Linked DNA regions of Homo sapiens: regions 1, 2, 3, 4 and 6 are each linked to region 5. The links are contacts of gene promoters, found by promoter capture Hi-C in blood cells and fetal thymus (Javierre and others, 2016). All regions are on one chromosome and are shown on one strand. Each heading gives the region's core, a stretch centred on a gene start or on the middle of the fragment in contact. The rest is flanking DNA. Distances are from core to core; before and after follow the strand shown.

Region 1 (4,335 bases), core at 1,515-4,014, 880 kb after region 5:
ACTGGAGATACCAGAGACTCTGAAACTATAGAATAAAGCCTCTGTGCTGCACAACAAAGGGGCAGGCTCTGCTTTTATTTCTTGTAAGAACCAACATAGTATGAAAGGTTGGTCAATGCGGACATTAATGGAAAAGGCCATGTACTGGTGGTGTGATGTGAATCCAGAAATTTTCAAGTGTGTCATTTATTTTATACTTATCAATTAAAACTCAAGATCATGGATTGGGAGACCAAGTTAATTTAATTAACTGGGGCTTCTGTATTCGTAAATGAACCATGAGTCAGGGCTAACTCCCATAGGTTTCATGAGGTGTGGATGAGTAGCTTAGCTTGTATCCTTTCTCACATGGGTGTGTGTACAAAACTCCATGAAGTCACTATTACCAGAGTACTCTGGGCTAGGCATTGTAACAGTTCAGGGAAAGTAAGGCCCTGCTTTCTAATATGCATTTGTGGCAATATGGTTGTGAGTGTGTATACACACACACGTACATTACTGTGATCAGTGATGCAGACAGTGTAACCCAAGCCTTTGTGGACAGTGAGTGGAATACTACTCAAGTTAAAAAGTCACAGAACTCCTTCACCTCACATTCTCTGGACTTAGTCATGAGGAGAGGGTGAGGCCTACTCTGTTCTCACTGGAGATACCAGAGATTCTGTAAACACACAAACACACACACACACACACACACACACACATAGTCGAAATTATAAGTCCCAGGTTTGTTAGGAAGCTAAAGGAAGGAGAGGGGCCCAAAGTAGTTTCCCGGAGGAGGTAGGAGTTGTGTCTCAGTACAAAACTACAAAATACTCTGTACTGGTTGAGTACAAAAGAGAAGTCATGAGAGAAGGGAAGAGGTGATCATTTGTAATTTTGGCACTGAATGTATAGTCTTATTCCATTCAAGCTTTCTCTTAATTCTGCTTAACAGCAGCATTCTCAAATAATAAAATTTCTGCTTATTAATATGAAGCTCTTAGAGCTATCTGGATAATACTTCTGTTCAATGGAGAAATATGTCTACAATTTCTTAATGGGGAATAACTGACTATGAATTTGCTGCATCTAAAATGACCCCATCAATTATACATGTAAAAATAAATTTTTGAAATTTTTTAAATAAAAAATTAAAAGATGTTGCCCCCATACTCCCTCCATCAAAAATGTTTTTAAAAAATGAGTGTCCCCTCTCCAAGTGTTTTTATGTTCAGCAGGTACAGCAGCAGACATCTGCAGAAGTTTCAGAACTCAGTGGAGCTTGGCTTAAGCTCTCATGAGTTGCATGTAAAGGAATATGTATGTATAAGAGGCGGATTTGAAGTGGCAGAGGGTCCACAAAAGGCACAAGTACTAACCACTGAATGGGAGGAGATAGAAAAATGTGTAAGTCACAATTAAGTCACAGAATCACCAAGTCTTTACCAAGTGCATTGTCAGCACTTTGCAAAACGCTGTGTACTTGTCTTTCAGGAAGCATACAATATGCACCCAAAAGAAGTGTGGGGAAAGCTAATCTTAGAAAAAGATAAAGGGGAAATGAGCAGTAGACCATGCAACAAAAATCAACATGTATGAGATCTGAATGTGTAGACATTGCATCATGTTTATTTGAAATGGATAAATAGAAAAAGGGACTGAATGGATTAGTATTCTAGATGTGTGCCTTATAGTAAAGAAGAGGATAACGATGACACTATGGAATTACGTTTTTTTAGGAATATAGAACCCCAAGAAGATTTTGTTCATTAGGTTTTATTCTGTTGATCTGATATGGATAAGATCTCTGGGAAATCATATATGGTATAACTATATAGATTGAATTATAGTTTAAGGTACATAGATTTAGTTTCTAGCCCTAACTCATTTTGTAAAAACAATTTCTTCTGCCTCCTTTTCAGAGAGTACCTTCTGAAAAGTCCTCTGTGGGTAAAGAGATCTTGTTTTCCTGAGTCAAGGAATTGCATGGATGAGAGTTTTTCTTGCATTCATGTAAGAGGGTGATTTGGAAAAGGCTCGCAAATCAGCACAAACTTGAAAGCCAAGCATGGAATAAAATTAGCCTTAAGATAATCAGGTTTAAGTGAAGGGAGAGTTTTAATAAAAATGGAAAATGTAAAGTCATAGCTCTGGTATTGCTGTTATTTCAAGCTGCTATGGATCAATGCCCAAAGGATGACTCATTGTTGTGATCACTTGTCAGACAGGGAGAGGACTAGTAAATATTTCAGGAAGACATATCTGAAAAGTTATTTAGATTGAATTTTGTTTGTGAATCCTCAGCTCCTCATGAGGTACCTGAGCATCTCTGTTAAGGGGTGAAATAGAGACACGGGAAGCAGAGAGACCTCCACCAGGATGTAAAGGGGATTGGTAAAGAGGAAGGGGGTAGGGGGGAGTAGAATTTTGATTTCACTTCAGTTGATTCTGTGTGTGTGTGTGTGTGTGTGTGTGTGTGTGTGTGTGTGCGCGCGCGCGCGTGTGTGACTAATGTACTGTTAATGTACTGTTTAGGTCAGGACATTTCTTAAAAGGAATGCTTTGGCCTCCTGCCTCATCCCACCTCCACTGCAAGCGTCAGACCCACCCAAGAATGAGCTCTCTGAATGTGGGTGCATTCAAAAGCGAAAAATGATAAAAACTTCATTTCTTGGCTTCTGTAGCCCTCTGAGAACTACAGATAAAGACAGAATAAGATAATTTGATGGTTTGATGAAGTGTCTGGGTGTGAGATAAAATCTATGTGCTTATGATTCTTAATATAAAAGATTATTTCGATCAATCTGGTTTGAACACATAGAAAACAAAAGATGCAAGAATAGCTAACAATAAAGTTCTTTTCTCAGCAATACCATAAGTTACTTCTTTTCTGTATCTTTGGATGAATGAGGGGAATTTCAAGTGACTTCAGCATTGGATGAAGCATAATCCTCCTAGCCAGGGCCAGGCCCAATCAAGCGTGCTGAGTAAATCTCCATGGTGCCAGGCCACTCACACTGGGCAAAACTCCCAGGGCCAGTCAGCCTAGAAAAGGTAGATTGCCCCTATATCACCAGGCCAATGCTTTGCCCTCTGAATACGTAGTCCTATCAGCTAGACTGCAGATGAGAATGATTTCCTTTTATATGGCTTAATTGCAAGTAGCTGACCACCCCCCCCCCCCCATTAAGCCTTTGACTTCAAGAGAAGAACCCTGACTAGCCCATTTTTAGTCAGGTTGGAGGTAGAAACCAAATTGTTGAAAATCACATAGAGGAAAATATGAAACAGTTACTGAGAGATTCTGTATTTCTATCCACATATTTAAGGTAGTATGAAAGGGAATAATGTAACATGTCAGGCAGCTCTGCATTATTTTATATTATTTAATCCTCTGACATATCTCTTAGATGAGGAAAATGAGAATGAGCATTAACTTGCCCAAATTTCCTCCTCTAGCACCTGACAGGGCTGGAGTCTTAATTCTGGCTCTAAAGCTCACTTCACTACATCTTGTGCCATAGGACATCTGGTAATCAAAATTCTCTTATTCTGAAATCCATTCTCTGTCTCTAATCCACTCTCCTTGGCTAAAGCCAATACAGGCTTGTACAGAATTTTGCTTTGTAACGAAGTCTATATAAGTTTCTAAACTTTCAGACAAGTCACTCTTTTTTCTGAGCTTCCTCATTTGTGAAATGAAAATGATGAAAAATAGCTAACTACACAGTTGTTATAGACAAATTGAGTATCTGAAATTACTTGTAACTGACATGCAGACATCATCAGGTATATTTAATGCCTCAGGTAGCTTGGATTCAGAGTTGATTGAGGAGCAAGCTCCTAAGTATCTCAGAGAATACCACCTGCTTACCAGGAATGATCTGGCCACAGCCTCAACTTCACCCTATTGTGCCTATTGGCCTTTGGCCACTGGAGGTTGACCCAGCAGTCTCACTCACAGCCTCCAGGAATCATCCACTTCCCTGGAGAGTTACAACCCAGGCCATTCACCCAGGAGGCAGCTTTCACGGTAGGCATGGTCAGACAAGTCCTGGAGAAGCCTGGTAGGCTCCAGAGGGAGCCAAGGAAACATGCCGTCTAAGGAGCTGCCCAGGATACATTAAAGCATGCGTTTAGACTTAGAATCATCCCACCGTACGCCTACACCCTCCTGTTAATACCAGAAGGAACTCAAACTTCATTTAGTTCAATCCCTTCGTTAAACATAACATGAAGAAGCCAAAGAGGTTCAGCAATTTGCCCTGACATCCCAGCTAAAAAGTGGCAGAATGAGACCTACAGTCCATGGATCCCCTGGCTGCACTTTCCTGCTTCTCCATCAAACCAACC
Region 2 (4,112 bases), core at 515-3,014, 800 kb after region 5:
GTCAGAGCTAAACACTGGCTGAGCCTGGAGAGCATAAAGCCAATTTAACAACAATCCTAGACAAGTTAGACCTTCCTGCCTTCTATTCTCATCTCCATCCTCCCTAGTGTTTCAACCCTAGAGCAGGCAGGTGTCAAGGCTGGCAATAAGGGTGAGGGTGGTAGATAACAAAGCGAGGTCAGGAGAGAGGAAAGGCCATACCCCTGTCCTCGCCTCCTGCAGCTTGAAGGTCCTAAAAAAGAGAGGGAGTGGCTGTCACTTTTAAAGTGCTGGAAGCCTTAACTATTACACAGACTGAATTACCTAATGGCTTAGTTTTTGTGTTTTGTTTCTTAAATTGATTTTATATTTAGAACTGTTTTTTAACAGTAATCAGAAAAGACAGAGGACTGCACAAGCTTTTATTTATGAGAGGAGAAATCCTTCCCCACTGAGTTCATTCTAAAAGGACAGGAGAAAAACAAAGTAAAGCAGCTTTCTGATTCCATATTTGTTCAAAACAAACATAAAAAGGAGAAATTAAAAAAAACAAGACAATTCAGAAAACACATGAAACAAACATACAAAGGGGGAAGAATGGGTCATGTAGAAAGGATCAAGGATAAAAAAAATTTAATAAAAACTTGCCAATCATGGAAGCTAGAAGACAGTGAAGCAATGTCTTCAGAATTATGAAGGAAAATAGTTTCCACTTAGAATTCTATGCCCAGGCAACTTAAGGGCAATGACAGAATAAAAATATTTTCAGATATTCAAGTTCTCAAAAATTCTTTCTCAGAAAGCTACTAGGGGATGTTCCCCACCAAAATAAAGGTGGTAACATGTATAAAACATAGACATGGGACCCAGGAAACAGAGCATCCAAAGAGGAAACTAATAAAAGGAATTTCCAAGAGTAATTACTAGATATAATTCTAAGTTAATGAACCAGAATGACTGCTACTCAGCAGGAAGAAATCATTTCATGTTGAATCAGGAGGAGGAAAGTCTCCTGGAGGGATATCTCCAGAAAAAAAAAAAAGAAAAGAAAGAAACTGACTTGTTGCCAGATGTAGTTGGCCATTTTGAAAAGAATTTCACAGTTCTGTTGCATAACTTAGTGATAAGTACAATAAAAACTAAGCCAATTTCAAAAAGGATTCAAATGTTAACTTTAGAAAAAAATGAATTTATACCAAAAGGACACTGTGATAATAATATTAACACTACTATACCTCCATGTGCTTGGCACTATTCTAAATACCACGCTTGTATTGTCTCTAAATCCTCATAACAACCCTATAAGGTAGGCAATTTCATTAGGACTATTTTACTGATGAGGAAAGTAAGGTACAGAGATGTTAAATGACTTGAACAAATACCACAACCCAGATTTGAACCTGGAAGTCTGACTCTAAAATCCAGACTCTAGTGTAGTCAGTTTGCTACATGGCTTACTTGTGAGCAGTATTCTATGATTGTCAACATATGCACACTTAATACTGATCTAACCTGTAATTATGACATAATTATATATTGAAAAAACAGGGGAGGGGAAATATGTTAGGAGTGAGTGGGGTAATAATAACATTTCTAAACCTCATCTTCCCTCTTAGACAGTCAATACATAATGGTTAAAACTGGAAAAATAAAACAATCTATAACAATATAAAGTTATTATTTAAAACACATAAGCAGGCCAGGCGCAGTAGTTCATGCCTGTAATGCCAGCACTTTGGGAGGCCAAGGCGGGCGGATCACGAGGTCAGGAGTTCAAGACCAGCCTGGCCAATATGGTGAAACATTGTCCCTACTAAAAATACAAAAATTAACCGGGTGTGGTGGCAAGTGCCTGTAGTCCCAGCTACTTGGGAGGCTGAGGCAGGAGAATCGCTTGAACCCAGGAGGTGGAGGTTGCAGTGGGCGGAGATCGCACCAGAGATCGCACCACTGCACTCCAGCCTGGGCAACACAGTGAGACTCCGTCTCAAAAAAACAAACAACAACAACAACAAAAAATAAGTAAATATCAGAAGAAACAGCTAAAATAATTTGGAGAGGAGAACTGGATTTGGAGATGAGAAAGGGACTTTTTCAATATTCAACAAGAAAAGGCTTTTTCAATATTACCCTTGAAGTAATATTTGAGTTTTTAAACTATGCATTTGTATTTCTGTGATTTAAAAAATCAATTTAAAGGGAAATTATAAATGTTGGAGAAAGGTAGGGAGGGATGGTATCTAGTACTGAAATGGGCACTTTGATAGTACTGATAGGAACCAGGACTCCCGTGACTACCAGGAAAGGTGTTGCTGGTCTTATAACTACCCACTGGGGTGTGGGATACAGCCTCTCAAGTCGGGTCATACCTTCTGCACCAAACACCTCTCCGCAGTGAGAGCAGAAGAAGTGCTCTGGGTGCCAGGTCTGGTTCATTGCTGTCAGCACTTTCTGGAAAGGGAACACACAGATATTATAATGATGCAGAAGTTGTAAAGCATGACTCTGGTTCTAAGTGAGTGACTGAAAGCTGGAGAGGAGCGGGGATTTACTTACATCCAGGATGGGAGCAGCGCAGTAAGCACAGCGTGGAGAAAAAAGTTGGTGGTAGTCGTTGGGGCAGTAGGCCAAGCCACTCCGCTCAAAGAAGGGACTGGAGCCAATCTCTTCTTTGCAATGAGTACAGACAAAATGCTCAGGATGCCATGATTGCCCTAGAGCATGGATCACCTGTGGAGTGAAATAAAGCCTGACACAGGAGGCCAGTTGAGTGCTCTACAGCCTACAGGTTGCACAACTCTAGGGAGCACTCTTCACATTGTACCCCTTGTAGACAACACGCCCTGGAATTATACAACACTGAGGCCTAGACCTAGGTTCCACCTAAGGCCATCTGTGGTCTGTGCTTTATGGATTGATAATAAAAGGATGCCCACTTCCGGGACTGATCACTGTGATGAAAGCCTGTAAATGTTCACAACCACTGCACTGCCACAGGGGGTGGCAGAAACAACATATAGCACATTGATGACAGAGAAGTTGTAACTGTAGCCTTAGTGTGGAAGGGACCCCTGGAAGAGGAAAAGGCCAAATGACAGTTTTTATTCCTCTAGTTTGAACACTTTATTCCACGCCCCATGCAGTCAGGTCTCAAAGCTTTTTATCATAGCTTCGGTGAAGGACGATGCAGAACAGGAGTTTGCAGCTGTGACTTGGAGCTGAGTTCAGCTGAAAATTGTAATCAATCAATTTAGACTGGGAATGTGTGAACAAAGGGAGCAGTGAGAAAGGTCATCTCAGTAAAGGCAGTACAGAAAAATGGTCAAGAACTCAAACTCAGGAGACAGTCTCCTGGTTTCAGATCTTACCTCTACCTCTTATTATGCCTTGGATATGTCCATTAATGTCTCTGAGTCCTCAGTTTCCTCATCTTTACAAAGGGAGCAATCATTCTTCTTGAAGGGCTGATGTGACCATTAAATGAGGAAATACTTGTAAAGCACTTAGCTCAGTGGCCAGAGCACTGTAAGTGATTAGTAATTATTAATGCTAACTAAAATATCTTAAAATATAAGGGGAAAGAGCAAACCTTGATGAGACAGAGAGAGACAAAGAAGGCTGTAGGACCAAAATTTCAGCCCATCTCACCTTCCCAGCAATCGGTTTCTGGCAGGATGCACAATGGCCCTTGGGCACTGTGGCAATGCCAAGGTCCTGCAATTCCTGCTCCAGACCCCCAAGCATTGAGTCCAGGGAGGCCTTGTGATCCTGCTTGTCTGGTAAGTGCTTCTTGCCAGCATCTGCTCTCACTGCAACCTGGCCCAAGGGAAGAACCAAGAACAGAATCAGCCTCATTTTTATTCTCATTGGCATCTTCTAATGACTCTATAAATTCACCTCTACTGACTGATCTCTTGGCCTTTCCCCAACCTTCCTGCAAGACATTGGAAAAATCTAAAATTTCAACACCAATAAAAATCTTTTCATCTCCCTTTCATCCTAAACTCCTCAGGCCAAATGAAATCTGACTAATTTTATATTTGTAAATCTTTTCTTAATGTAGGAAATTTAGTACATGAAGATGATACCCTTTGAAGATCTTAGGATGACCCCAGTTCAAAAATTAGTCACAT
Region 3 (4,402 bases), core at 1,289-3,788, 740 kb after region 5:
TAATAAGCCTATCAATCAATGAATGATGGAATTCAAGTGACCATCTGGCCAAGTCAAACTAGCCCTCTCGTGGCAGAGTTATACACATTCTGGAGTGCCCTTTAAATATTTTTGTTGGATGTGGACTGAGTTAAATACTTCATGAATGAAACAAACACAGGTCGGCAGATGATCATGAACCTTCCAAGAGTTTTAGAGGTGTTTTTCTGTTTTATTTAAAAATAAATAAAAACATTCATTCCTGACTTAAAAATAATCACAGAACATTTATGTTTCTTTGGCTCCTCTCTGTTTTCCTCTCCCTCTCCCTTTCTCTCTCTTTCTCTTTCTCTTGCTGTGTCACATAGGCTGGACAGAGAAGAAATCAGAAGAAGCTCAAACCTGTGTAGAATACTGTCTGCCTTTAAGAAGAAGAAAACTCTGCCATATGCAACAACATGGATGAACCTGGAGGACATTACGCTCAGTGAAACAAGCCAATCACAGAAGGACAAATACTACTTGATTCCACTTTTATAAAGTATTTAAAATAGCCAAACTCATAGAAACAGACAGTGAATGGTGGTTGTTAGGGGCAGGGGGAGGGGGCAATGCTGAGTTGCTCGAAGGGTATAAAGTTTCCATTATGAGGCCAGTTGCAGTGGCTCACACTTGAAATCCTAGCTCTTTGGGAAGCTGAGGTGGAAGGATTGCTTTAGCCCAGGAGTTCGAGGTTACAGTGAGCTATGATAGTACCACTGCACTTCAGCCTGGGGGACAGAGTGAGATCCTGCCTCCAAAAAAAAAAAAATTCAGTTATGCAAGATCTGCTATACAACATTTTACCTATAGTTAACAATACTGTACTGTGCAGTTACAAATTTATGAAGAGGATGGATTTCATGTTGTGTTCTTATCAAAATCTTTAAAAAAGAAAAAAAGAAAAAGGAGGCTGGGGGCGGTGGCTCACACCTGTAATCCGAGCACTTTGGGAGGCCGAGGCGGGTGGATCACGAGGTCAGGAGATCGAGAACATCCTGGCTAACAGGGTGAAACCCTCTCTTTACAAAAATATAAAAATTAGCCGGGCGTGGTGGCGGGCGCCTGTAGTCCCAGCTACTTGGGAGGCTGAGGCAGGAGAATGGCGTGAACCCGGGAGGCAGAGCTTGCAGTGAGCTGAGATCGCGCCACTGCACTCCAGCCTGGGCGACAAGGCAAGACTCCGTCTCAAAAAAAAAAAAAAGAAAGAAAAAAAAAGGAAATAAAGACTTTTGCTTCTGACTTTAAAATACAGAATGTTTTTGTTTCAGTGGTTTCTCTCTCTCCTTTTTACTTGTGCTGTGTAGGTGGGACAGAGGACAGACCAGAGGCAACTTAAACCTGTTCGGAATGACTTCAGCAGGTCCTGGGATATGAAGGTCCCTCCTAAATCAGAAGAGAGTATCTTAAGTTACATATCTGTTATAAAGAACATCTCCCCGTGTCCCCAAAATATAAAGACACACTAAAAATACATATGACCCAAGGAGAGAACCCACACAAGTGTGGGTGTGATTCACAAAGTTATAAATATCACTTGCATAAAGGATGACTCAGAGAAAAATAATTTAGAAAGAGACCAAGAACATTATTTTATTAATATAATTTCTTCTGAGAGAAAAATGAGGCTGAAATATATGACACTGCTTTCCTGTTTCTCCCCAATAATGAACCCCTAAATGGGGTTGATAGGAAGAGTCTGCTATAGATCACTCCTGTTCTCAGTTACCTCTTCCATGAAATGAAAATGCTAAGAATAATATCCACCTAATAATAATATGAAAAACATTAGGTAATATTTACTGAGCTTTACTATGAGTTAGAAATCAGCCTGCAGCAATTATGTCATGAAACCTCTACAAGCCTGATGAAAAAGATACTACTGTCTTATGATTGCTACTTTAGAGATGGGAATTACAAGACTTAGAGGTATTTTAGTAATTTCTTCCAGGTTGCATCACCAGTAAATGGCAAAAACAATATTCAAAACCAAGAAGTCTGATTTCAGAAGCCACAGCCTAAATACCAGGATAAATATCTCTTGATTAAATAAGATAAAGCATGTAATAGTAAGCACTCCATATATGAAAGTGACTACTATATTTCATCTAAGTCCTGCTTCTATGCATTCTACACTATTATCCCATGCTAGTCCACACGTGGAATTTCTTTCTTGTGTTAGTATTTATTTCAGTCTGCAGGTTCTTTCCATCTCTGCTGATAGGAAGGATCAAAATTCACTTAGAGAAGATTTTTCAATTCCTAAGAAGACTTAGCATCTCTTCAGCATGCTCTGTGAATTTCAAGGCTCTTGATTGAAGCTTCTTATCCTCTATGCATCCATGTGCTCATTAAATTCTGAAACAAGGCTCATGAACCAAAAGAAAAACGGTTAAGAACCACAGCTCTGGCTCTGATGACTGAAGCATGACTTCTGTCTCTATTTATGAGGAGTTGGGGTTTGGCACTTTTCTTCCTACTTTGAGCTTTCTGTGTTCAATGCCTAATACCACTTAGATTTTCCTTCTGTCAAAGCCCTACGGAATATTGGTACCATCACATGAGTTTTAAAAAAATTCTATGTTGTTGAAAAGTCTAAAAGTTCAGAAATAATACTTAAAACATCCCCATCTGAGATTTAAGTGTTCAGTAGGCTATTAAAGATGCTGAGAAGTACTGTAGTAATGTAACAGCAAGCTGTTTAACTTACCTGCTTATGGAAAGCTTTTTCATATGTAACCCTGTTAACTCCCCATAGCATTTTGCTTGGGGAAAAAAAAAAGTAGCATTAGACAGAAGTGTGTAATCCATGAAATTCCTGGATTGTGTCCCACTGAATACAATGCATCTCAGAATTACACTCTTTGTCCATTTCATGCCAGTTTTCAGGACAGCACATATACAATTTTCCCATTTTCATAATTCTCTCTCATTAGCTTGAGTGTTCCATGAGGATACATTTTTGTCATGTTTACCTTTAAAATACCATCACACTGTCTAGAATTTATTAGTTATAAATAAACACTTCTTGAATAAATGAATTACTCAGAACCTTTTGTTTGTTTCATTGGTGGTGAATAGAGTAAACAACCGTTCCAATTTGCCCAGAATTAAGAAATTTTCTGAGATTTGGGGCTTTCAGTGAGAAAACAGATTGTTCCAGGCAAACTAGGACAAATTGGTCATGCTATGCGGTGGTGATTTTTTATTTTGTTGATTTTTGCTTTTAATTATCATATTTGTCCACTCTGTGTGTGTGTCCAGATTTTAGCTAAACACTAGCCATGAATTAGTGTGTTTACTTCTCAAAACAGCCTCAGGAAATATGTATGATTTCGTCTCCATTTCACAGATGAAGAAATCAAGGCAAAATTTTCATGCCTTGGCCACAGATACCCAGCCTTACCCTGCTGTCTGGTTCTAGAGTCTGTGCCCTCCAAAATGAATTCTGCAGGTACAGCAAAGAGCATAAGGTCACGAAATTCATCTTTGAAAATAAGAGCTCAGTAATTCACATAGAAAATAATGTGGACAAGCACAATCCATTCCCTGCTGGGTGAGATAGAATGTGAGAGAAAGAAGTCTGGAAAGCCATAATCTTAACATTAATCCAAGATGCGAGTGAATTTGAATTTGAGCTTTTAATATGTTATATACAGGCCAAGCAAGCTGAGAGCTATTTTTAGCTCTAAGTTATGAAATACAATCACATGGACAGGTGGCCTACATTTTCAGTTTTATATTTGGTGAGGAGTTTTGCAGTCAAAGTGAGAATGCCATTGCACCGACCAGGTTTGGAAAAGGCAGCTGGAGTCCTACAGATTCTGAGCATGCTGAGCAGGACAGCTAGGTGGTGGTGTGGAGTGGGAGATAGAAAATCTGGAGCCTAGACTCAACACCACCAGTCTATCTATATGACATGGGAAAAAACATTTGAGATTTCTTTTTTTTTTTTTGCCTTAGTTTTCTCATCTGAAAAAAGGTAGAACATGATGGGGAGGTAAGAATAGAGTATAAAGGGTTTGTAGGCCAGCAAAAGAGTGAATCGGTATCCTGGTTCTATCACTTAGCATCTGTATCTGAGCCTTAGTTTTACCATCTATAAAATGGGAAATCTGATTCATAAATCACAGGTTATCATTTAGTAGAAAATGATGACACTTCTTCATCTGTTTAATCCTTGATAAGTCACTTCACATATTTGGGCCTTGGTTTTATCAACTATAAAACTAGGATAATAACCTAAATGTTAACAGGGTAATTATGAGAAACAACAAAGGTGAAAATGCCCACCAGAGCTCACAGCACACACAAAACCATCAGGAAGTATTTGAGGAGGGGACAGCTTCTAAGGCTCTTTACATCTCTAGGAAATGTGAATTTT
Region 4 (4,220 bases), core at 1,496-3,995, 860 kb after region 5:
AGAATTTCATGAATCCAGTTACTTAAGTGTATTTTGCATAGTTAGCATTGCATTTTTTAGAAGATAAGGCAGTATAAAATTACTACTTTGCAACATGAAGTAATTTCTTTAGCATGATGACATTAAGGATAAGTTTTATCTCATTTTCCTTTTTTTATTATTTCAATTAAAGTCTTCAGTTTTTTTTCCTTTGAAAATATTTAATTTATCTTCAACTGTATTTACAATTAGTAGATATACAGGGATGGTTATTGGTTAACTGTAAACTTAAAGAGAATGGTATGTCTTTTTATTTAGATCCCAAGGAAGAAAAAGAGGAAGAAGACGATTCTGCCCTCCCTCAGGAAGTTTCCATTGCTGCATCTAGACCTAGCCGGGGCTGGCGTAGTAGTAGGACATCTGTTTCTCGCCATCGTGATACAGAGAACACCCGAAGCTCTCGGTCCAAGACCGGTTCATTGCAGCTCATTTGCAAGTCAGAACCAAATACAGACCAACTTGATTATGGTACAGTGCAACTAGAATATGGCTGTTTACTAACTAGTTGCTGTTACATTTTAAATGTAATGTTGAACATTTGTGTTAACAGCTTAACTGTCAGGGGCAGGTTTGATGGTGTAGGTGGTATTTCTTTGAACAGTTTGCAGATATTCTGCTTTTGTATAATTACCCCATGCAGTAATTTGATTTGCATTTCTTGACTGCAGAGAGAAAATATCTTATATCTACACTAATAAAATTTTGTTTTTGGCTTTGTTTTTCTAGATGTTGGAGAAGAGCATCAGTCTCCAGGTGGCATTAGGTAAAAAAAACATTAATATTTCATTTTTAAACCTTTGGGGACATAGCATAGTCACAGTAAATGATTCAGAAGTTGCTTCCATTTGAAATTATTTTGAGCTGTAAGAGAAATTAACTTCAGTTTTGATACTGCATTTAGATTCCATGTTGAGCTTGATTAGAACTTAAACCATGTAATCTACTTACATAGCTTAGAAATCATGTCTTGAGTATCTTCTGTGTTTGGACTTATTCCATGGTAGGCACTAATGTGAAATATGGGTGTTTTGGCCAAGGTTTTGAGATTTTATTGGAATCTTTTGTGTTGTGATTTATCTGTTAGTAGGTCTTTTAATATAGCAGATCACCAGACAGTATTACAAAGTCAGTTGTTTCTTAACTTTTAATGCCATTGAGTTGTCATCACCCTGTCTTTATCTAGGATTTATGTCTTTTTAGTTTCAATTATTATTCTTTGTGATAAAACAGCTAGATTTCAGTCCAATTAGGTCATTAGGATGAAAATGCTAGATGACTTTATCAGTGTTTGGCTACCTCTTAAAAAATTACCAAATAAAATCCCCTCAGACATGTTCGCTACAACCAGAATGTCTCATTTCTATTTACTTATTTTTAGTAGTGAAGAGGAAGAGGAGGAGGAAGAAGAGATGTTAATCAGTGAAGAGGAGATACCATTCAAAGATGATCCAAGAGATGAGACCTACAAACCCCACTTAGAAAGGCATGTCTCAGATTTTACTGCAGACATGTTAATGAAATATAAGTAGGAAAGCACTGTTGCATGCTTTTATTTTATCTGTTGCCAAGCTAATGGGTATAGAATTAATTTTAAATGAGTAATTAATTATGCACTTCTTTTGTAAGTCTAACACCTTAATATACCCTGATAATAATCCTCTTTCCCATTTGTAGAACTTTATTTTGATTATATACAAGTTTTTATGAGTCTGCATGTTTTATTTCAACAAGGTATCATGAATTGCCTGAATACTTAGAATTTTTTAACTAATTGTCTCGTTTCTCTTTACAATTATAGTGAAATTTGATTTACAGGCATCTTTAGTCTGGGGAGGGTTCATTCCATGAGCAACATATACATATATTTGGATCATTACTATGCATGTGAGGATGATTGGTAGGAAATCACATTTCATGAACTGAGGAAGGTAGTTTTATAACAAATCAGTGATAACTCTAAGCTTTAATTTGTTGTCATAGTCTTCCTTGAAAAGATCTTTTGTCTAGTATTGAAATGCATTTGTGTTTTCAGGGAAACCCCAAAGCCACGGAGAAAATCAGGGAAGGTAAAAGAAGAGAAGGAGAAGAAGGAAATTAAAGTGGAAGTAGAGGTGGAGGTGAAAGAAGAGGAGAATGAAATTAGAGAGGATGAGGAACCTCCAAGGAAGTGAGTAGGCAATTATTAAAAATGAAAATCTAACAGATTTTGAACGACTAGTGGAAAAAAGAGTGGGAGTGTGAGGAAGGATGTTGACGTATACATGCTTCAAAATATGTATTTTTTAACTTAAAAAAATTTGGCCTCAAGCAGCTGACAATTTCACTGGAGAGACTCTTAGTAAAAAAATGTTTAGGTTTTTCAGTTCTATTGCAAGGAGAAGGTATTTTTTAATCTTAGTGTTTTTAGATGATACATGGTAGCAACTCTAAAAGTAATACATTGAGATTCTTCTAAGTCTTTCATAGTATTGCATAGTTTATGGAAGGTATATATTTAATCTGTCTTACAGACTGATTTGAAAGTGAAATTACTTCAGGGTAAAATTACTTGCTTGATTTGCCAGATATATCTTTGACTTTATGTATTCTTGGTTATCCTTTGCCACTTGTTCTTTGGCCGTGTGTGTGTGTGTGTGTCTTCAGCCAGCCTTCACTGTGTAGTTTTGATTCAGAATATGTCTACTGTTACCCTGTCTTCAATTACAGGAGAGGAAGAAGACGAAAAGATGACAAAAGTCCACGTTTACCCAAAAGGAGGTGAGGAATTTTTACCCCTACTGTTTTACACCTTATTCCAGTACCAGGCACTTTACTCACAAATTTAGACTTCATGATAATCCTGCAGGAATGGCTATTTAAAAATTTCACAAAAGCAACTTCACTAATGTCCTAGATGCACAGGTGTTATGATCTTATTTTCATTGTAAGAGCTTGAAATTTCTAACAATCTTAATACTTTACCTTTGGGGGGTCATTAGTTTATTTGTGTTACTTTTTAATTCTGTCAAATATTTGCTAATTCTTGGTTACTTCTAATACAAATTCTGTGTAATCTGTATAGTAGTAAAGAGATTTTAATTCTTCCTACTATAAAATAGCTATTCCCAATAGCACAGTTTAAGTCAGAGGCCACTGTGCAGAGTACCACTTTTTTTTTTTTGCTAACTTTTCTTCTGCATTTTGATAATAGAAAAAAGCCTCCAATCCAGTATGTCCGTTGTGAGATGGAAGGATGTGGAACTGTCCTTGCCCATCCTCGCTATTTGCAGGTCAGTGAAGTTGTTATATAAGAGCCTTTCAGGTTGTGTTCCATTACTTGTTCTTGCACCACGAGACTTTAATTTGTTGGCTTGTGTAGGCTTTATCATTGACATGTAATGTCAAGAAAAGTCTTTCTTTAAACATAAAATGACTTTAACCCATTTATGCCTAGTGTTCCATTATTAGAATGCTAAGCTTGGGCAAGTTATTTATATCCTACTGTTCAAGGTCATCACCAAGGTCTGATTTTTCACAAAAATACATTTGCAACCTCCAGCATAAATGGGTTAATCATGATTAGTCCATTTGTGCTGCTATAATAGAGTACCTGAGACTGGGTAATTTACAAAGAACATATATTTATTTATTAGCTTGTGGTTCTGGAGACTGGAAAGTCCAAAAGCATGGTGCCCACATCTCACAAGAGCCTTTTAACTGTGTCAGCCCATGGTGGAAGGGCAAGAATGGGTTGAACTTGCTTTTGTAACAAATCTACTCCAATGATAATATCAACCCATTTATATAAGGGTAGAGCCTTTAAGACCTAAGCACCTCCCATTAGGTCCCGCCTTCCAACACTATCACATTGGGGATTAAGTTTCCAACACATGAACTGTGGTGAACACATCCAAATTCATAGCACCTCCTGTTTAAAAAGAGGTGACTAAGAATCTGAACCCACATAGAGAACTTTCGTTGGAATCTTTCAATATTACAGTAATTCCCAATGTGGTGTAAATACAGAGTAACATTTTATTTTAAAGTGATTTAGAAAAAAAGTAAAATTAGAACTCAAACCTGTGATTTCTTGGGTACTGTGTAGAATGAATAAAAGACTTTTAGTTGAGGTTTTGTTTTTATTTTTCTTGAGTAGATTATTATTATTATTTTTGATGAGTAAACGTACCACTTATATTTAG
Region 5 (4,453 bases), core at 1,562-4,061:
CTGCCAGGAAAAATCCCTGCTTCCTCCCACTTGTTTGTCTTTCAGATCTCACCTAAGGGGTTATTCCAAGAAAAGTTCCCTAACCCTTGTCTCCCAGTCTCCTCAAGTCTGTGAAGGATGTTTCTTTTTTATCCTCCTAAGTCTGCCTATGACTTACCCAATTATATTTTTAATATATTGCACAGTTACTTGAATGCACTGGATTTTTGAATGTCTTCCCCTTATAAGATTTCCTTAAGAAGAGGAACTTTTGTATGACCACGGTAGCAGTGTTTAGCATACAACAGGCAACTGATACTTTTTTCTTTATTTGGAATTAAATAGTCAATCTCAACTCTGCACTTACTAAGAGAAGCAGCAGGCAAATCACTTAACTGTAGTCCTCAACTCATTCATATGTAGAATTGGAACCATATAGCTAAGGCTTCTCTTACAAGACTGTTAGAATCAGATGAGACATGGCCGGGTGTGTGGCTCACACCTGTAATCCCAGCACTTTGAGAGGCCAAGGCAGGTGGATCACCTGAGGTCAGGAGTTCAAGACCAGCCTGGCCAACATGGTGAAACCCGGTCTCTACTAAAAAATACAAAAATTAGCCAGGTGTGGTGGCATATCCCTGTAATCCCAGCTACTCAGGAGACTGAGGGAGGAGAATCGCTTGAACCCAGAAGGCGGAGACAGCAGTGAGCTGAGACCGCGCAATTGCACTTCAGCCTGGGCGACAGCGCAAGAATCTCAAAAAAAAAAAAAAAAAAAAAAAAAAAATCAAATGAGACACTATACTGTATGTAATCCACAAACTGTAGAGTGGTATACAATATTGGTTATCATAATTATTTTTTATAAATGAAGACATTGAGCCCCAGAGAGATGAAGTTACCTGCCCATTTCTTGGGCCTTTATATATCAGGATCTACTTAGTAACTCTGACTCCTAATCTTGGGCCTTGTACATTATATATCAGGGTCTACTTTATGCTGAATTAACATTTCCAGTGTGAAGTGAAGGGGTGGAAATAACCTATACATTTTTAGTTCTAGCAACAAACAACAAAAGTCATCAATTTGAAGATTAAATAAATTAAGCAGGCCGGGCAACGTGGCTCACGCCTGTAATCCCAGCACTTTGGGAGGCTGAGGCAGGTGAATCATGAGGTCAGGAGTTCGAGACCAGTCTGGCCAACATAGTGAAACCCCATCTCTACTAAAAATACAAAAAATTTTCCGGGTGTGGTGGCACGCACCTGTAGTCCCAGCTACTCGGGAGGCTGAGGCGGCAGAATCGCTTGAACGCGGGAGGTGGAGGTTGCAGTGAGCTGAGACCGTGCCATTGCACTCCAGCCTGGGAGACAGAGAGAGACTCTGTCTCAAAAACAAAACAACAACAAAAAAGAAAATGGGAAAAGGGTCGGACGTGGTGGCTCACGCCTATAATCCCAGCACTTTGGCAAGCCCAGGCGGGTGGATCACTTGAGGCCAGGAGTTTGAGACCAGCCTGGCCATCATGGCAAAACCTCATCTCTACTAAAAATACAAAAGTTAGCTGGGCGTAGTGGCGCATGCCTGTAATCTCAGCTACTTGAGAAAGCTAAGGCATGAGAATCACTTGAACCCAGGAGGTGGAGGTTGCAGGTAGCTGTGATTGTGCCACCACACTCCTGCCTGGGCAAGAGAGTGAGACTCTCAAAAAGAAAACATAATAGTATCATCTAACACATATTGTGGTTAGTATATTAAAAGCACTATTCTAAGTGCTTACCCACATTAACTCTTAATCTTCACAACCATCCCATTGGAATATTATCCATGTTATATAGAATGTATCTGCTTATAAAACTTTACAATTAGATTCATTATTTAAGAGAAAGAAGCAAAGTCACAATTTCACTCTTGAAAACAGTAGTAATTGTCCTAGAAACAAACAGCCCTTTACCAAATAGTTTACAGTGGTCATAGGCAGTAATATTTTGCTGATTTTGTCCTTTACCCTCTGGCTCTGAACTCATTTTATCTTATTCTATGGTGAGTTTTCAGTTGAATTCCGACCACTCTCTTACCTTCTGCCTGCAGAAGGACATCACAGAACACATCACTCTGCTGCTGGTGATGAAGCTGCAGAAAAGCTAACCTGAGGAACCGGGGGTTCCTGTATAGGATTTTGGGACTGGCAGGAGAGCACATGTTGGCAAGAGTCTTAACAAACCTTCTAGGTTTTCACAGATCAGACTCCTGTAGGTGAGATAATACATTTCAGAGGCATGGTTACATCTAATTTGTTTTTTGTCTTTGAAATGGCAGGGGAATTTTGAAAGTGAGAGATAATAGTATGAGTTGAGGAAACATCAGCCCAGAAATTGTGCCAAGGATATCTCAAGAAAGAAAATTATCATAGTGGTTACATGTGGGAGCTCAGAGATAAGCCTAGGTTTGGGTCTTGGCTCTATTTATTAGCCTGGCTGTATAATCTCACACAGGTGACCTAACTTCTCTGAGTCTCACTTTCCTATCCATGAAATAGAATAATAGTACTTACCTTGTAGGGTTGTTTTAAAGATTAAATGAGTCAGTGAAGGTAAAGTTGCTTAGCACAGTGAGTGCCTGGCACAAAATAACTACCAAGCCCCAAATGGTAACTATTATTATCCTTCAACCTTCCTCATTTCCATTACCACTGAGACTCAACTGCTACAATGCTGACTACTTATATTCTTCCTGAGCACCACATCCCAGCTCCACAGGTATAATCTTCAAGTTAACACTTTTAAGGAAACATTACTGGGTATAAAATTATCTCTAGTAAGTCGTATGCGCCTTTTCTCTGAGCTCACTGTATCACACTAACCAGCAGAGGGTGCACAATAAAGAAGAGAAGCCTCTGACTCTGCGGGAAGGTCTCTCACAGAACCAAGGACGTTGCCACCCTTGGCTGGGTGTACTTGACCAAAGCGAGCCTGACTGACCCTGGTAGTAGGCAAAGAATTTGGCCTTTACGTTTGTATAGTTAATTACCAGGCTAACAATGCAGCAAGGATAGTAAAGCATTTTACCCCTCCCAAAACAAACTGAGTATTCTGACTTCAGGCTTATGTCCAGCTTTTTAGCTCCGAAACCCCCCCACTCACTGCACAGCTGTGTTCCTTTCCTGGAATGCAGTTTTCTATCAGGTAGCACTGAGGGTCCGAACAGTTCACGTCAAAACTATCAGGAAAGAAGAATGAAAAGGTAAATTAAGAGAAGGCGGGCTTGGCTGGGCGGGGTGGCTCACGCCTGTAATCCCAGCACTTTGGGAGGCCGAGGCGGGTGGATCACCTGAGGTTAGGAGTTTGAGACCAGCCTGGCCAACATGGTGACTCCCCGTCTCTACAAAAATACGAAAATTAGCCGGGCATGGTGGCAGGCGCCTGTAATCTCAGCTACTCAGGAGGCTGAGGTGGGAGAATCGCTTGAACCTGGGAGGCAGAGGTTGTAGATAGAGCCACTGCACTCCAGCCTGGGCGACAGAGCGAGACTCCGTCTCAAAAAAAAAAAAAAAATTCCCATCCCAGTGAGAGAGATGTGGATGGAGGATGGCAGCTGTTGCAAGGGCCCTGGGGAAGCTTCTCAATCCACGATCGCCTGGCCTTGCCTCCAGACCCAACTTGAAATAGCTTTTCGGTAGACTTTGCTCCTGTTGCCTTCTCTGTGCTTGTCCTCTGTCCAGCCTGCCTTGCTTCCTCTCAATGTTCAGCGTTGAGTCAGGAGGCTGAGCAAAGATGCGCAGGTGGGCCAACGGCTGAGTGCTTCACCTCCCCATCCAGAAGCAAGGGAATCGGTGTTGGCGGAGAAAGCAGGGCTTCAGGGAGAGCCCTGCAAAGCGGGGTGGCCCGCACGCTTGGGCGCCCTGGCCCAACTCCTTTGAAGAAAGACTCCTAGGCGCGAGGGTTTCTGGGAATGGACCGTGGGGATCCGGGAGGCCCAAAGTCAGGACTTCCCGTCACGGCCACCTCCGCCAGCATAGACTTTGCAGGCAGCCCCTGGCGCCCTTGTATCCCTGCGGGCTTCAGCACCCACATGCACTGGGTGGTAGTGATAGCGAGGGTTGTAAGGCCACGCGGCCAGCGCCACACACCTCGTGCCACCGTCCTAGCGCGCTGCGCGTCGCAGAGCCCTACGCCCCTCCTCCTCCCGAGTCCTCGGGCCTACGTCGTCCGGCATACGTCATCCCCATTGGCCGAAGGCTCCCGGGAGAACCAATCAGAACAGGAGGAGCGCTTTGGGCGGGAGGCTAAGTCTCGAGGGACTTGAGGGCTGAGGGAAGATGGCTGGGCTGCAAGAGGCAGGGGGATGGGCCCGTCAGGGAGGAATTCTTGTGAAAGCCGTCGTCTGCCTCAGCACTTGATGAAAACACACCGAAAAAGAGGGTAGGGATGCTGTAGTAGAGCAGGCGCCAAGGCGGTTAAGGGTCATGTCCGTC
Region 6 (4,420 bases), core at 1,180-3,679, 840 kb after region 5:
TTTTTTTTTCTCCCATCTGTTATGTCCTTAGTGAGGAATAATAGTTAAAACTGCCTCTCAAGATAAAACATAAAAATGGAGACCAGAATACCTTAATGTTTATTAAAGTATGTTTTAAATGTTTAATGGAATGATAATAAATACTGTAGAATCAAGTAGATGTGGGCAGTGCTTCAGTTATTAATGTTAGATAGGTTATTTATTGCAGAACTTCTCAGAAACTTTGATTTTTGAGTAATGTGCAGTGTAAATACCAAAATTTTGCAGCGATTACCTAACCTATTTGACTTATAAGACCCCCTTTTTAAAGAGCATTTCGTAAAACTGGAGTTTACAGAAAACATACTTGGAAATACTGCATGCTTGAAAATTTGATTGTATAAAACTCTGGATCTCAACCTTTTATTCAAAATCATTTTACTCTTTTCAGTTGCTCTTATGAAATAGTGATGTTTGACAGTGATTACTGTGAGTCTCTAACTTGTGTAGTCAGGAAAAAAGAAGTCAGTCATCAGATAAATTCATAACAGATCTCAGCATTTACTTAGATTATTTGGAGCTTAACTGTTAAGTATTTACCTTACCTAGTTTATCATAATCAGCATACTATCTGTAATTATTACTAAAGTATTAGTTTATTTTGATTATTTTTCCTCCTGTCTGGATGACATCCTCAGTTTTTTTCTTATATTGATACAGTCTAATTTATAGCTTATGCCTCTGTGCTCCATGTTTTAAAATTAGAATTAATTTGTTATTAACAGTTTTCATAGATTTCAACAGTTTTATTTTTCATGTATTGAAATATCTTTGATTATCGTATCCTCTCAAATCAGTCTCTTGTATCCCATTCATCTTGGCCTCTTGTCAACTTGCAACCTCAATATAACATTGACTGTTTTTACTTCCTTTACAGATGTGTCTGTTTTATAGTATACTTTTTTGTTGGTTTTTCTTTCTTTCTAGTATATTTAAAGAATATTTTTATTATTTCTAAAAATACAGAAGACACATTTTTATGCTTTTTTTCCCATTCCAGTGAGAAAAATCTAACTTGTAATTCTTACCATTTGAGTTTGTGTACAAAAGGAAGAATCGAGAAGATACTGAGAACATTGTCTTCACAATTCTTTCTTGAAAGATTTTGAATCTCCTTGCTAATGACCTAGTTTTCCCAGTCAAAATAAAATCTTTTAGGTTTTGAATAGAAAAAGAGTTCTGGAAGGAAAATCTGTAGGTGAGAAAGGGCGTGTATAAGCCCAGTCTTAACACTCAGATAGGCTTTTAAGGTTTTTTTTGTTTGTTTTTGAGACAGGGTCTCATTTTATTGCCCAGGCTGGAGTGCAGTGGTGTGATCATGGCCCACTGCAGTGTTGATCTCCTGGGCTCAAGCCATCCTCCTGCCTCAGCTTCCCAAGTAGCTGGGACTACAGAAGTGTGCCGCCATTTCCAGCTAATTGTTTTTGATTTTTTTGTAGAGACAGGGTCTCACTGTGTTGCCTAGCCTGGTCTGGCTAGGCAGTCCTCTTGCCTCGGCCTCCCAAAGTGCTGGAATTTATAGGCATAAGCCACTACACCCAGCCTGTTAGTTTTAACTGAAATATTCCCCTTTACCAATTAAATGATACTGTTCTAAATTTAAATGTAAGTTAAAAACAACAACAACAACAAAAGCCTCTTTCCCTGGCTTCTCTTAATACTACTGAGATTGGCTAATATTTCAAAGCAAACTTTAATTATTTATGGAAAACAAAGTGCAGCTAGTGATAGAAATACACAGAGTAGTTCAGTTAGGTTTCAGAAACTCAAGTTTCTGACAATATAATGTTCAAGCCTCAAAGGCTAAATACAGTAGATAGACATTTTTGTTTGTCCTTCCTTCCTAATCTTTTATCTTAAGGTAGCAGTAACTGTATTATTTCTCTTAGTATGAGAATAATTTACTCAGACATCTTGTTCCATGTTGGGTATGGCCCAGATCCTTTAATCCGTATTGCTAGTTCAGACATCCAAACCTCCTTTGGTTCTTTTCCATTATTAATTTCCTACAAATAAAGATATATGTCACTTATAATATGTGAATTGTGATGTAGGCTTAAAAAGCCTTGATCATCAGCTTATTTCAGTTATGGGATTACCTATCAGGTAAATGAGTCTTAACTTTATAATAATTTGCCTATTACAGCTCAACTTATTGCCATCTTCGACACAGTTATAAGTTTATTCTGCTATATATATTATTTTACATTGAGATCCCTTTTCCTGCCAAGACCACTTGAGAGTTAAAGCAGAATGCCCTGATAGAAGAAAACTGAAGCAGAGGAAACTTAAAATCCTTAGTGGGGAAAGCCATATTCAGCCAGTACAAATCCAAAACCTTTAAGAGAGACTTGCTTGTATCTTCATTTTGAAATGAGCCTTAGTGGATAAGAATCTGTGACAAAAAGTAATATTGCCCCTTGACTGTTAAGTTCAAGAAAGAAGAAATTCCTCTGAATTAAAACCAGCCTGAATAATCTAATGCTATCCGGGCAAAGGCTTCTTTAGCTTCATAACAAACCATCTAAAAATTTAGTGGCTTAAAACACAGCAATTTATTATTTACTGGTTGGGCCATTCCCCCCTCCTCATTGGTCATTCAGTTCAGACTTGTTTTATATTATGGTGGTTGTGGCGCAGTGTTCCAAAATCCTGAAGGCAGTAACTGCAAGGTGTCTTGAAACCACCCCCACAGTATAATCAATCAGTTGTATTTCTGTATATCAGCAACAAAAAATAGAAAATCGAAGTCATAAAATCAAAATAAAATTTATATTAGTATTTACAACCCTATAAGCAAGATATACTGCTCCATTTACTTAGGTTTTTAATTTTACTCAGCAATGTTTTGTACTTTTCAGTGTATAGGTCTTTCAAATTTTTTATCCCATATATCCCTGAGTATTTCATATTTTTTGATGCTGTTAGCTTAGCTTAATTGGGATTCCCACTGTGTTTAAGAGTGGGATTGATTCTTTAAGAAAGAAGAGGTGCCTAGATGCTTTGTGGATATCCAGTCATGGCTACTGTACATTTATATTCTATTATTTAACCGTTACCTAACTGAAGGGCATTTGATATTTCTGGGTTTTTTTTTTTTCCTGAGATTACAGGTGATTTTTAGAGAAATCCTATTAAAATGTACCATACGTATACAGAAATGCACATATTATAAGACATATACATGTACTCTTGTTTCTCCTCCCCCTTCTTTATTTTATAAGTGGGTGGACCCAGGGTGAGCCCAATCATGTAACCATTTACACAACTGAAGAAATAAAACATAATTGTTTTGGAAACTCCCTTATGCTCCTTCAAGTCAACCGCCCCCAAGTGTAACCACTATTTTGACTTTAGCAGAAATTAGATTTGCCAATTTTTGAATTTTACATAAATGGGATAATACAGTAGGCACTCTTTTGTGTCTCGCTTATTTTGCTCATCATTTGTGACAAATGCTGTGTTTGTCATAGATCGTTTATTTTAGTTGTTGTATAGTGTCCCATTGTGGGAATATAACCACAGTTTAACTGTTTTACTGTTGATGGATGTTTGGGCAGTTTTCAGTTATTAGTCTTTATGACTAGTACTGTGATGTATATTTTTGAAATATAGTGTTATTGGGATGTAATTTATACATCATAAAATTCACCCATTTCAAATGTACAATTTAGGGATCTTGGTACATTGTATGAATTGCACACCTATCACAATACAGTTTTAGAACTTTTTCTTCACCCTAATAATGTCCTTCATGCCTGTTTATAGTTAATCCGTATTCTCACCCCCAACCCTAGGCAACCATTAATCTACTTTCTGTCTGTATAGATTTGTTTTTTTTCTGGACATTTTGTGTAAATGGACTCAGACATACAATTTGTGTTTGTATATAGGAAGCATTATGCAATGTATGTAGGAAGCATTATGCAGGCAAGACAAATTTGTATCTAGAGTCTATTCCAGTAACAACAAAGCACTGCCACTTCCATGATGGAAGTGGTCCAATGTAGCGAACCTTGCACCAGGTGAGCTGGATGATCACCCCAGGGAATGGTGCCATATCAGGGACTCGGTGTTGGTCTCTGCTGCTGGCATATTAGGCAATTAGCAGTGGCTGTAGCCAGGTCAGCCTGGGTTTGGTTTTCAGCAATCTCAGTTTTGCAGCTGTAGTAGGTAAGTATTGTTTTCAGGAAAGACACAGAAACTTTGAGGTAATTTTTGTGATGCTCGAGCTGGGAATTTGAACCCCTGAGCACATCTTTTTTTTTTTTTTTTTTTTTTGGAGACTGAATTTCACTCTTGCCCAGGCTGGAGTGCAGTGACGTGATATCGGCTCACTGCAGCCTCTGCCTCCTGGGTTCAAGTGATCCTCCTGCCTCAG

Evidence for each region. The method cuts DNA at HindIII sites, captures the fragments that hold promoters and counts their contacts. A CHiCAGO score of 5 or more calls a contact.
Region 1: a fragment that was not itself captured here is called in contact with the fragment with the promoter of BTBD18 in region 5 in 3 of 17 cell types (fetal thymus, non-activated CD4 T cells and M0 macrophages); the score reaches 6.0 in fetal thymus.
Region 2: a fragment that was not itself captured here is called in contact with the fragment with the promoter of BTBD18 in region 5 in 5 of 17 cell types (naive CD4 T cells, naive CD8 T cells, total CD8 T cells and 2 more); the score reaches 7.5 in naive CD4 T cells.
Region 3: a fragment that was not itself captured here is called in contact with the fragment with the promoter of BTBD18 in region 5 in 1 of 17 cell types (total CD8 T cells); the score reaches 5.6 in total CD8 T cells.
Region 4: a fragment that was not itself captured here is called in contact with the fragment with the promoter of BTBD18 in region 5 in 1 of 17 cell types (non-activated CD4 T cells); the score reaches 5.9 in non-activated CD4 T cells.
Region 6: a contact is called between a fragment that was not itself captured here and the fragment with the promoter of BTBD18 in region 5, in 4 of 17 cell types (activated CD4 T cells, total CD8 T cells, naive CD8 T cells and 1 more). The highest score is 7.6, in activated CD4 T cells.

Annotation. Positions count from the first base shown.
Region 1 is chr11:58,625,676-58,630,010 of GRCh38, forward strand. It overlaps CNTF (ciliary neurotrophic factor), which reads left to right. Exons shown (of 2, transcript NM_000614.4): 2 at 1-58. It overlaps ZFP91-CNTF (ZFP91-CNTF readthrough (NMD candidate)), which reads left to right. Exons shown (of 13, transcript NR_024091.1): 13 at 1-58. Among named protein-coding and RNA genes, the nearest start is that of CNTF, 5.2 kb to the left of the region's middle. The HindIII fragment of the contact is 3,706 bases long and covers 912-4,335 here.
Region 2 is chr11:58,547,438-58,551,549 of GRCh38, forward strand. LPXN (leupaxin) reads right to left here. Exons shown (of 9, transcript NM_004811.3): 5 at 3,628-3,795; 6 at 2,536-2,709; 7 at 2,349-2,430. Among named protein-coding and RNA genes, the nearest start is that of LPXN, 26 kb to the right of the region's middle. The HindIII fragment of the contact is 2,737 bases long and covers 397-3,133 here.
Region 3 is chr11:58,492,351-58,496,752 of GRCh38, forward strand. It overlaps LOC105369313 (a long non-coding RNA gene), which reads right to left. Exons shown (of 5, transcript XR_007062673.1): 5 at 1,586-4,402. Among named protein-coding and RNA genes, the nearest start is that of OR5B21, 14 kb to the right of the region's middle. The HindIII fragment of the contact is 403 bases long and covers 2,338-2,740 here.
Region 4 is chr11:58,609,533-58,613,752 of GRCh38, forward strand. ZFP91 (ZFP91 zinc finger protein, atypical E3 ubiquitin ligase) reads left to right here. Exons shown (of 11, transcript NM_053023.5): 3 at 298-507; 4 at 766-802; 5 at 1,418-1,522; 6 at 2,072-2,206; 7 at 2,746-2,796; 8 at 3,230-3,308. It overlaps ZFP91-CNTF (ZFP91-CNTF readthrough (NMD candidate)), which reads left to right. Exons shown (of 13, transcript NR_024091.1): 3 at 298-507; 4 at 766-802; 5 at 1,418-1,522; 6 at 2,072-2,206; 7 at 2,746-2,796; 8 at 3,230-3,308. Among named protein-coding and RNA genes, the nearest start is that of CNTF, 11 kb to the right of the region's middle. The HindIII fragment of the contact is 1,495 bases long and covers 1,999-3,493 here.
Region 5 is chr11:57,749,008-57,753,460 of GRCh38, forward strand. BTBD18 (BTB domain containing 18) reads right to left here and starts at 2,812. Exons shown (of 3, transcript NM_001145101.3): 1 at 2,534-2,812; 2 at 2,058-2,229. The coding sequence starts at 2,181. The region is part of intron 2 of TMX2-CTNND1 (TMX2-CTNND1 readthrough (NMD candidate)); the gene reads left to right. The HindIII fragment of the contact is 11,151 bases long and covers 1-3,594 here.
Region 6 is chr11:58,587,782-58,592,201 of GRCh38, forward strand. All of the region lies in intron 2 of ZFP91 (ZFP91 zinc finger protein, atypical E3 ubiquitin ligase), which reads left to right. The region is part of intron 2 of ZFP91-CNTF (ZFP91-CNTF readthrough (NMD candidate)); the gene reads left to right. Among named protein-coding and RNA genes, the nearest start is that of ZFP91-CNTF, 11 kb to the left of the region's middle. The HindIII fragment of the contact is 5,379 bases long and covers 1-4,420 here.